Regions from separate parts of the Homo sapiens genome. Here region 2 is linked to region 1. The links are contacts of gene promoters, found by promoter capture Hi-C in human tissues and cell types (Jung and others, 2019). All regions are on one chromosome and are shown on one strand. The core of a region is centred on a gene start or on the middle of the fragment in contact, and the rest is flanking DNA. Distances in the headings are between cores, read along the strand shown.

Region 1 (4,176 bases), core at 469-2,968:
CAAGCTTGCCTCCCTCCATTCCCTCCCTTTATTTCCTCCCACAAATGTTGACTACAAGAGCACTTCCTAAAAAGCCTCCCTCTGCCTGCTAAACACCATCTCAGAATCTGCTTCTAGGAGGACCCAACCTGTGCAGAAATTTTATGAGCAATTTGCCTGTCCATTAAAAAATACAGCATAGACTTTTTCCAGGTTAGCTGGAGATGGAGTTTTTTTGTATCAAAAAAAGAGAGCTAAACTGAGAAGAGAAGCAAAGGTAGAAGAATAAGGTTAGACTCTCCCTGTATAACTGAATTTGGGATTGGGAATGATATCTTGCTTCTCTATGAAATTTAGAAACTGTCTTTTGAAGTCTTCATCCAGTCACATCCAAGAGTGGTCCAGGAAGAAAAAGGAAAATAAGAATGAAAAAAAAACAAAAAACAAACCTTAAAATTGGATACTTCTTTGTGCCTTGCATTAAGCCTCTATGTTACTGCCCTTGTCCGTATAAGCAACTCTAGATAAAATCCTTTCTTAGACCATCTAATTTATCTCCCCGTGCCATTGTGAAAATCGGGCAGGAATTACTGCGGGAACCAGTGACTGAATGGGCAGTGGTGTCTCGCAGCTGTAACTCAGAGTTTACAAGGGAAGGATGAACAGCAGCCATCCTTCTAAAGGCATTCTTCCTCTCCTCCAGCACAGCTCAGTCTGTGCATGCCTCACCAAGGAGAATGAGGGAAGGCCTTGTTGACTGCCCAGCCCAGAGTGTGAGGAACAGCAGTTGACATGGGCGGCTGGACGGGATAGAAACCAGCATGAACATTTAGTGACACCTAAGGAAGAGGTGAAAATGGGGGAGAAAGCCAAGAACCATCAGACAGCTTCTTTCTGTTCTTGCCTTGGATCTTAGGGGAACGTATGTGTTCAAGGGTGCCTTCCTCCGCAGGGCCTCCCATCCCTTGGCACAAACTTCCAAACGATGAGTAGACATGGAATGGGCTTCTTCTGAAGACTGGGTCACCATCCAACTCAGCCTTCGGAGTAGGCGGTGGGGCTGGGGGAAGAGGACGGAACCATGAGGTCTCTCCATCACTTCCCGGGTGTGTTGAGAGGCAAGCAAATGCGGTGGGTGGGCCTGGGCTGTAGGGCCCCTGCCATTTCGGGAGGGGCCTCCTGGTGTTTAGCTCTGGGATGTGTGAAAATGTGTTGGTGAAAAGCGAGAGGCTTACACAGCCCTTCAGGGGAAGAGGGGCTGGGGCGCTGGGGGCGGCGTCGGGATGAGTGCAGAAGAGACGAGGCCTCTGGACAGCGGAGGAGGAGGGGAGGGCGCCGAGGCGCGGTGCCAGCTGCCGCGCACAGGGGCCCCGCGGCGGAGCCGAGCCGCGGGCACGCTCTGCCCTGTCGGGAGAGCTCCGGGAGCGGCGGGAGGGGCGGAGGGGCGCAGTGGGGCCCGGGCGGCTGCGGCCGCGGAGCCGGGGCACCTGAGGAGGAAGGAGGGTGGGAGCGAGGGAGGGAGGGGACGGGCGCAGACCGAAAGTGGGGAAAGAAGGTGCAGGCAGGCGGGCAGGCGGGCGGGCGCCCTGGCCCAGGGCCGCGGGTGCGGGAGCCCGGCGAGGTCGAGCTGGGCGGCGGCGGGGGCCGCGCCGAGGGAGGAGGGGAAGGCGGAGGCGCGGGGAGCGTGTTTGGGGCGCCGCGGCGGGGAGGGTGGCGGCCGCTGGTGCGCGCGGGGCGCTGTGTATGCGCGCTCCCCCGCTCGGGGAGGAAGATGGCCCAAAAGGGAAAGTTGGGGTGACGCGCGCGGTCCCCGGAGGCTCGGCGGGGGGCACCGCGGCCAGCCCGACGGAGCGGCGGACACACAGGCCGGGGGGCGCGCAGTCCGGGCGCCGCCGCGGCCGCCCCCTCACTGCAGGTGGCAGCGGGTGCGCTGGGTCCCGGCGGCCGCGGGCGCGGGCGGGCGCGCGGGGGAGCCCGGCCGAGGGATGGGCTGCGCCCCCAGCATCCATGTCTCGCAGAGCGGCGTGATCTACTGCCGGGACTCGGACGAGTCCAGCTCGCCCCGCCAGACCACCAGCGTGTCGCAGGGCCCGGCGGCACCCCTGCCCGGCCTCTTCGTCCAGACCGACGCCGCCGACGCCATCCCCCCGAGCCGCGCGTCGGGACCCCCCAGCGTAGCCCGCGTCCGCAGGGCCCGCACCGAGCTGGGCAGCGGTAGCAGCGCGGGTTCCGCAGCCCCCGCCGCGACCACCAGCAGGGGCCGGAGGCGCCACTGCTGCAGCAGCGCCGAGGCCGAGACTCAGACCTGCTACACCAGCGTGAAGGTAAATGCCCCGCGCTGGCACACGCCGTGGGGGCCGTCCGCCCCGTCGGCGGGGCTCGCACGGGTAGGGGGCTCCGGCGGAGTTGGGTGACCGTGAGGCGGTTGGTTTGGAGAGGTTGTCACTAAGGAGGAGTTTACTTTTCATTTGTGGAGATGATGGGAGCCCAGGAAATGTGGTCAGAAAAAGGCCCCTGGAGGGGTCCTGGAAGCGTCCTTAGCTGGTCCTGGGGGACTGGGCGGGGAAGGGAGCGCAGAAGGAAGCAGGTGGGCTGGCCTGTTCCTCCTTGAGGGCAGGAAGGCTGTGGCTTGGTTTATGCAGGAAGAGGGGTGGGGACCATTGAGAGCATTCGGTGGCCAGTCCTGTTGAATGAAATCTGAGCACTGAGCTGGATTTGCGTGCCTTGTAGGTGACTGGTGCAGTTGCAGCACCAGGATAGATAGTGCCCCATATTCCGATTTTTACCTGGGATTACCAGCCAGGCTGGAGTCTCAGCACAGGAACCGAGCGTAGGGATTTGTGAATGAATGAGTGTTCGTGTTTTAAGAGATGTGGGAACGGAGCAGAGTGGAACCTGTTGTTTGTCACTGTAACGTTTCTCTGGGTTGGCTGCATCCTAGACAGAATTGAGAGAACCGGGCCATGAGTTCGGAGTGTCAGCAGAGCCACCGTGAGGGGACGTGGTTTCCAGTGCAGTACAGCTGTCTGAGGATGATTCTGCACATACAACTGATCTTCCCAGAGAGTGGGATTTTGAGGAAGTGGAAAAAATTGTTTAGATGGTTAAAGCAGTCGCTAAATATTTATTTCTTAAAGACAGAAGAAAAATAATTATTTAAATAGTGTCCTCCCGTATGTTCTCAAAGTACCGTTAAATCCAAGAGGCTTTTCATTGTGTAAATCTGGGCACTGGGTCTTTTTTCCTTTCAGCAAACAAGATAACAATGGCATATCCTATTGTACAGAGAGAAAAAAATACTCCTAATGTCAGATAGAATCACAGCCTTTACCTGGTCAATAGGTTACCAAGAACCATTCCATGGATTATTTGTCAAAGACACATTTGTATTTTTAATAGTTAAAAACTTGGTCTTCATTGGATGAAGGCAGCCCACAGTGGAGGAGTGAGGAGAAGGATAACATGTTTTGGCTTCAATCTGGAAGTCCAAAAGTTTTTTAATGAACCTATTTTTTTTTTAACAGCATCTGATTGTTTAACATGAAGCTTGACTGATGTTTGCTTGTGGTTGCAGTGTTTCTCTGGCAGTAATCATAATCACCATTATAGTAAAAACATCGTTTATTGAGCACCTACTATGTGCCAGGAGTAAGCTTTCTCTCCTAACTATTGAATGTTAACAGTGTGATCTTAGCATAGCATGTCTGAAGACTAGAGTCTAGGATTTATGACAGTACAAACCTACCAGTTGCCCATTCGTTACAGAGGCATGTGCTGAACGCTATACTTTGCTTTTGTCAAGCTCTCTCTCTCTCCCCCTCCCTGTTCACACAAAGTTAGCTTTAGGAGCAATTTTCAGGGATGAAAATGTTAAATTTGGTGAAAATATTAAGTTGGGATATTATCAGTAAAGACCATCCTTTTGCCTGACGGTTGAAGACCTGAAGCAGTAGTTCAAAATTGTGACAGCTCATGAACTTTGTGATACTTTTTTTGGTTGCTCCAGAGAAATTGTGAATTTTTGTTTTCTAGAATATCTATAATCTCAGTTTAGTACTTGGCAACTCTAGCTACTCCATGTTTGTTCAGTAGAAGAAAGAATACTGAATGAACCCATTCTGTACATTTTTAATACTTCCCTCAAGAGGCTGCTTAGAGACCAAATGAAGTAAAAACTGAAGGGACAATGAGCCCCAA
Region 2 (4,176 bases), core at 1,067-3,566, 130 kb after region 1:
TTTTCCAACTTTTTAACCTGAAGAATAAAACATAAAGATACCTGAGACAAAAGAGTTATATGGTTCCCAAGAACAGATATTAATAAAGCTAAGGTTCTTCTGCCAGAAGAGTATGAATAATTAATACAAGCAATTAAGTTCTAAAACTCTAGAAACATGACTCAAGTTGATTATCTCATTTTGCTGCAGGTTTATTTAAATAGAACCATCAACCAAAGAGGTTGAGAGCCTGAATAAACGTTGTGGTCTGGTAGTGTTTGTTGTGGGGGGCAGGGGTGGGAAATAGTGTGTTCTTTCTACCAATATCCTTTCATTTCAACTGTTGATAAGCATTTACTTTGTCTTATGGGGCTTTATACTTATTGAAAATTTCATGCTTTGTGGATAATCATAAAATGAATGTTTAATAAATTTTGGAGATTGGATCTAAGATCATGTATAAAGGCAACCTCTTGAATTGATGAAAATGATAATAGTCTGAAGTACCTGTTTATATACTTAGTTGAAACCTGTTTACATAGTTAGAGAAAATACTTAGGCAAGAGAGGAATTTGTCATTTGATAAAATGTGTTAATTAAAGCTTAATTATCCAGCTCTCAAAATTAACAAATTAGTCCACATAGAGTGTGTTTCTCCAAGAGTGACTTCTGAAAGACAGCTGCTGCCCAGGAAATCCTTCCCTACAGTGCTTCGTCCAGTTTTGGACCAGGTGCCTGGAAAACACTGTTGATAAGACTAGCTCTTGCTGTCTCTTATGAGGCAGTGCAGTGACAAATTTGGTAGCAGTTTTAAAGCCCCCTTTTATTCTTGTTTCTTATTTTAAATTGTGTTTACAAGTGGTGGTACTAAGACAGTATACAGTTCAAATTAGGTAGACTGGAGCAATTTAAATAAGAAAATATACTACTGCGCCTGTAAGCCATTTCAGTTGAGTTAGGTTAATATTCTCCTCTGCTCTTCTAACCCGTATCATGATTACTTGTTACACTTACCTTCTCACACTGATATCTTCATTTCTGCAACTATAGGAATGGCGTCTTGCAGTTGGCTAAAATATTGCACTCCGCACGCATACCTCACTATTATTGAATACAGTTCTTGGTTTGACATTTCAGGTATACTTATGAGAAAAGATAGGTTACGATTCATTTTTTTCACCAAAGCCTTTTGAAAGCCTTAGAGAACAAAGAAGTATTACTCTGTGATCTTAAACATAACAACAGGTATCTACATGTGTTGTATTCTCATATTGTCCCAAGCACTTCGAGAAATGCCTCACATAAACTATCTGTTTTGATCTTTACAAAAACCTGTGAAATACGTATTATTATCCTCATTTTATGGATGAGGAAACTGAGGGCCATTGAAGACAAAAAGTTGCCTCAGGTCGCATAACTGGAAAAATACAGAGCCAGATTTCACCCAGTTCTTTCTGCCTTCTTCCCTCTAAACGGATCAAAATAGGAAGACAAAGTTAGAATGCCTTTATGAGTGGAAAAAAATAACATTTTTCAGAGTTTTTTTTTTTAAAGAAAAAACATCAATCCAGTAAATCAACAGTTTTTTTTTATTTTGTAATGTGTAAGAAAGCTTTTTATTGGGATTCTTTAAACAGTCAGTATAAATAACAGAGCTCTAGCTACATGCTTGCTGTGTTGGACAGTAAATAGCTTACTGTATTTGGAGTTGCTCTAGATTAGGAAATTAGTTAAAACTATGATAAACAAAATGAGAGTTTGATTCCAAATATTCCAGAAATATAGGGAAGGTCACCAAGAAAAGTCCCCACTGGAGAGCTGCAGAGGTGCAATGAACCAGCAAGGGGAGTTCTGCTGGGTTTGCCTTTCACCATGCCAGGGGGAATGGTTGGAAGCCGAGTAACATCACAACAGCAAAAAAGGAGAAAAAATGTTTTTGTGTCTGTTGCAAAAGGCCAGAATACCTCACATCCAATTTGGGCCCAGTTAAGTTCTCTAATTGTTGGAGACTTAACTTCTCCATGACCACAACTGTGAATGAAACAGAAGAACGTCATTGCCTCGTGTTAGTGTTGAAGTTTCATTCAGCACACACATAGTCCATTCCATGATCCACGAAGATTTCACTGAATTACAATTCTTTTTGTATCATACACACAGATATATATGCTATTGTTTATGCATTTAGTTTGAAAGATTAGTTTTTTTCCCTCAAAGCATATTATTAACCCTCTTAGTCTGTTAGGATTGCAATAATGAAATACAGTCATGCATCATTTAATGATGGGGATATGTTCTGAGAAATGTGTCGTTGGATGATTTTGTCATTGTGCAAACATCATAGAGTGTACTTACACAAGCCTACGTGGTATAGCTTACTACACACTTAGGCTACGTGGTACAGCCTGTTGCTCCTAGGCTACAAACCTGTAGAGCATGTTACTGTACTGAATACTGTAAATACTTTTAACACAATGGCATTTGTGAATTTAAACATAGAAAGGCACAGTAAAAATGCAGTATAAAAAGAGTTAAAATGGTGCACTTGTATAAGGCACTTAGCATGAATGGAGCTTGCAGGACTGGGAGTTGCTCTGGGTGAGCTGGTGAGTGAATGGAGAGGGAACATGAAGGCCCAGGGCATTATGTGTATAGGACTATAGACTTTATCAGCTTTGTACTCTTAGGCTACACAAAATTCATTAAAACATTTTCCTTTCTTCAATAGTAAATTAGCCTTAGCTTACTGCTACTTTTTAACTTTATAAACCTTTATATTTTTAAACTTTTTCACTTTCTTAATAACATTTAGCTTAAAACACAAACACATTTCACAGCTGTACAAAAAAAATGTTTCTTTATAACATTATTCTGTTAGCTTTTTTCTATTTTTAAATCTTTTTTTTTTTTTTTTTTTACTTTTTCAACTTTTTTGTTAAAAACTAAGACAAACTTTGGCTGGTGCCTACACAGAGTCAGGATCATCAATATCACTGACTTCCCCCTCCACATCTTGTCCCACTGGAAGGTCCTCAGGGGCAATAACACACATGGAGCTGTCACCTTCTATGATAACAATGCCTTCTTCTGGGATACCTCCTGAAGGACCTGCCTGAGGCTGCTTTACAGTTAACTTTTCTTAGTAGTAGAAGGAATATTTTATCTAAAACAATGATAAATAGTATAGCAAATACATAAACCAGTATCCTAGTTATATCTTATCAAATGTTATATACTGTACATCATTACTGTATTGCTACACATTTATACAGCTGATAGTTTAGTGGGCTTGTTTACACCAACATCATCACGGACACGTGAGGGTGTTATGTCTGCTACGACACCACTAGGCAATAGGAATTAGGTTATAATCTCGCAGGACCACCATTGTATATTGAGTCCATTGTTGAAATATCGTTATGAGTTGCATTACTGTATCTTAAATTGAGTAATTTATAAGCAACAGAAATGTATTGCTGACAGTTCTGGAGGCTGAGAAGTCCAAGATCAAGGTGCCAGCAGGTTCTGTGTCTGGTGAGGGCCTGTTCCTCATAGATGGCACCCTCTCTATGTCCTCACATGGCAGAAAGTGCAAGGGAGCTCACTGGAGCCTCTTTAATAAAGGCATTAATCCCATTCATGAGGATGAAGCCCCACTGACTTAGCCACTTCCCAAAGGCCCTGCCTCTTCATACTATCACATTGGATGTTAGATTCCAACATATGAACTGTTGGGAGACATCAGCATTCAGACCATGGCAATAACAAAAAGTACGTAGATTTGATGAACCTGGTATCTGTTTACTTTGTTAAATTAACAGATGAAATGTGAATGGTTTTCATAGAAGAACTAACTTCAATCTTTTATAACTTTCAGGGCCTGTAATTCAGTGTTTACAGCATTAGATCACTGTCATGAAGCCATAGAAATAACAAGCGATGACCACGTGATTCAGGTATGGAAAGAAACCACCTCTATCATTAACATTCAAAATGAACCTTTCAGGTTTAAGCCACACTTTTTATCAAGTACTTTCCCATCATCCTCATGTATCAGCACATTTTCTTAGGAGAAATAAATATCAAGCTGTGCAAAGAATACTGATAGACTTAAGAATTAGATATTCAATAAAGAACAAAAAATTATTACTTCAGATCAGAACCTGCAATTTCTTTGACAGAAATGGGGTTTAAAAA

The links. Contacts are between HindIII fragments. The study calls those that stand out against the background at their distance.
Region 2: a contact is called between a fragment that was not itself captured here and the fragment with the promoter of PDE8B in region 1, in 2 of the 25 tissues and cell types used here (IMR-90 fibroblasts and hippocampus).

Annotation. Positions count from the first base shown.
Region 1 is chr5:77,208,962-77,213,137 of GRCh38, forward strand. It overlaps PDE8B (phosphodiesterase 8B), which reads left to right and starts at 1,719. Exons shown (of 22, transcript NM_003719.5): 1 at 1,719-2,303. The coding sequence starts at 1,965. The HindIII fragment of the contact is 4,534 bases long and covers 1-4,176 here.
Region 2 is chr5:77,340,997-77,345,172 of GRCh38, forward strand. PDE8B (phosphodiesterase 8B) reads left to right here. Exons shown (of 22, transcript NM_003719.5): 7 at 3,857-3,935. Among named protein-coding and RNA genes, the nearest start is that of PDE8B, 130 kb to the left of the region's middle. The HindIII fragment of the contact is 7,622 bases long and covers 1-4,176 here.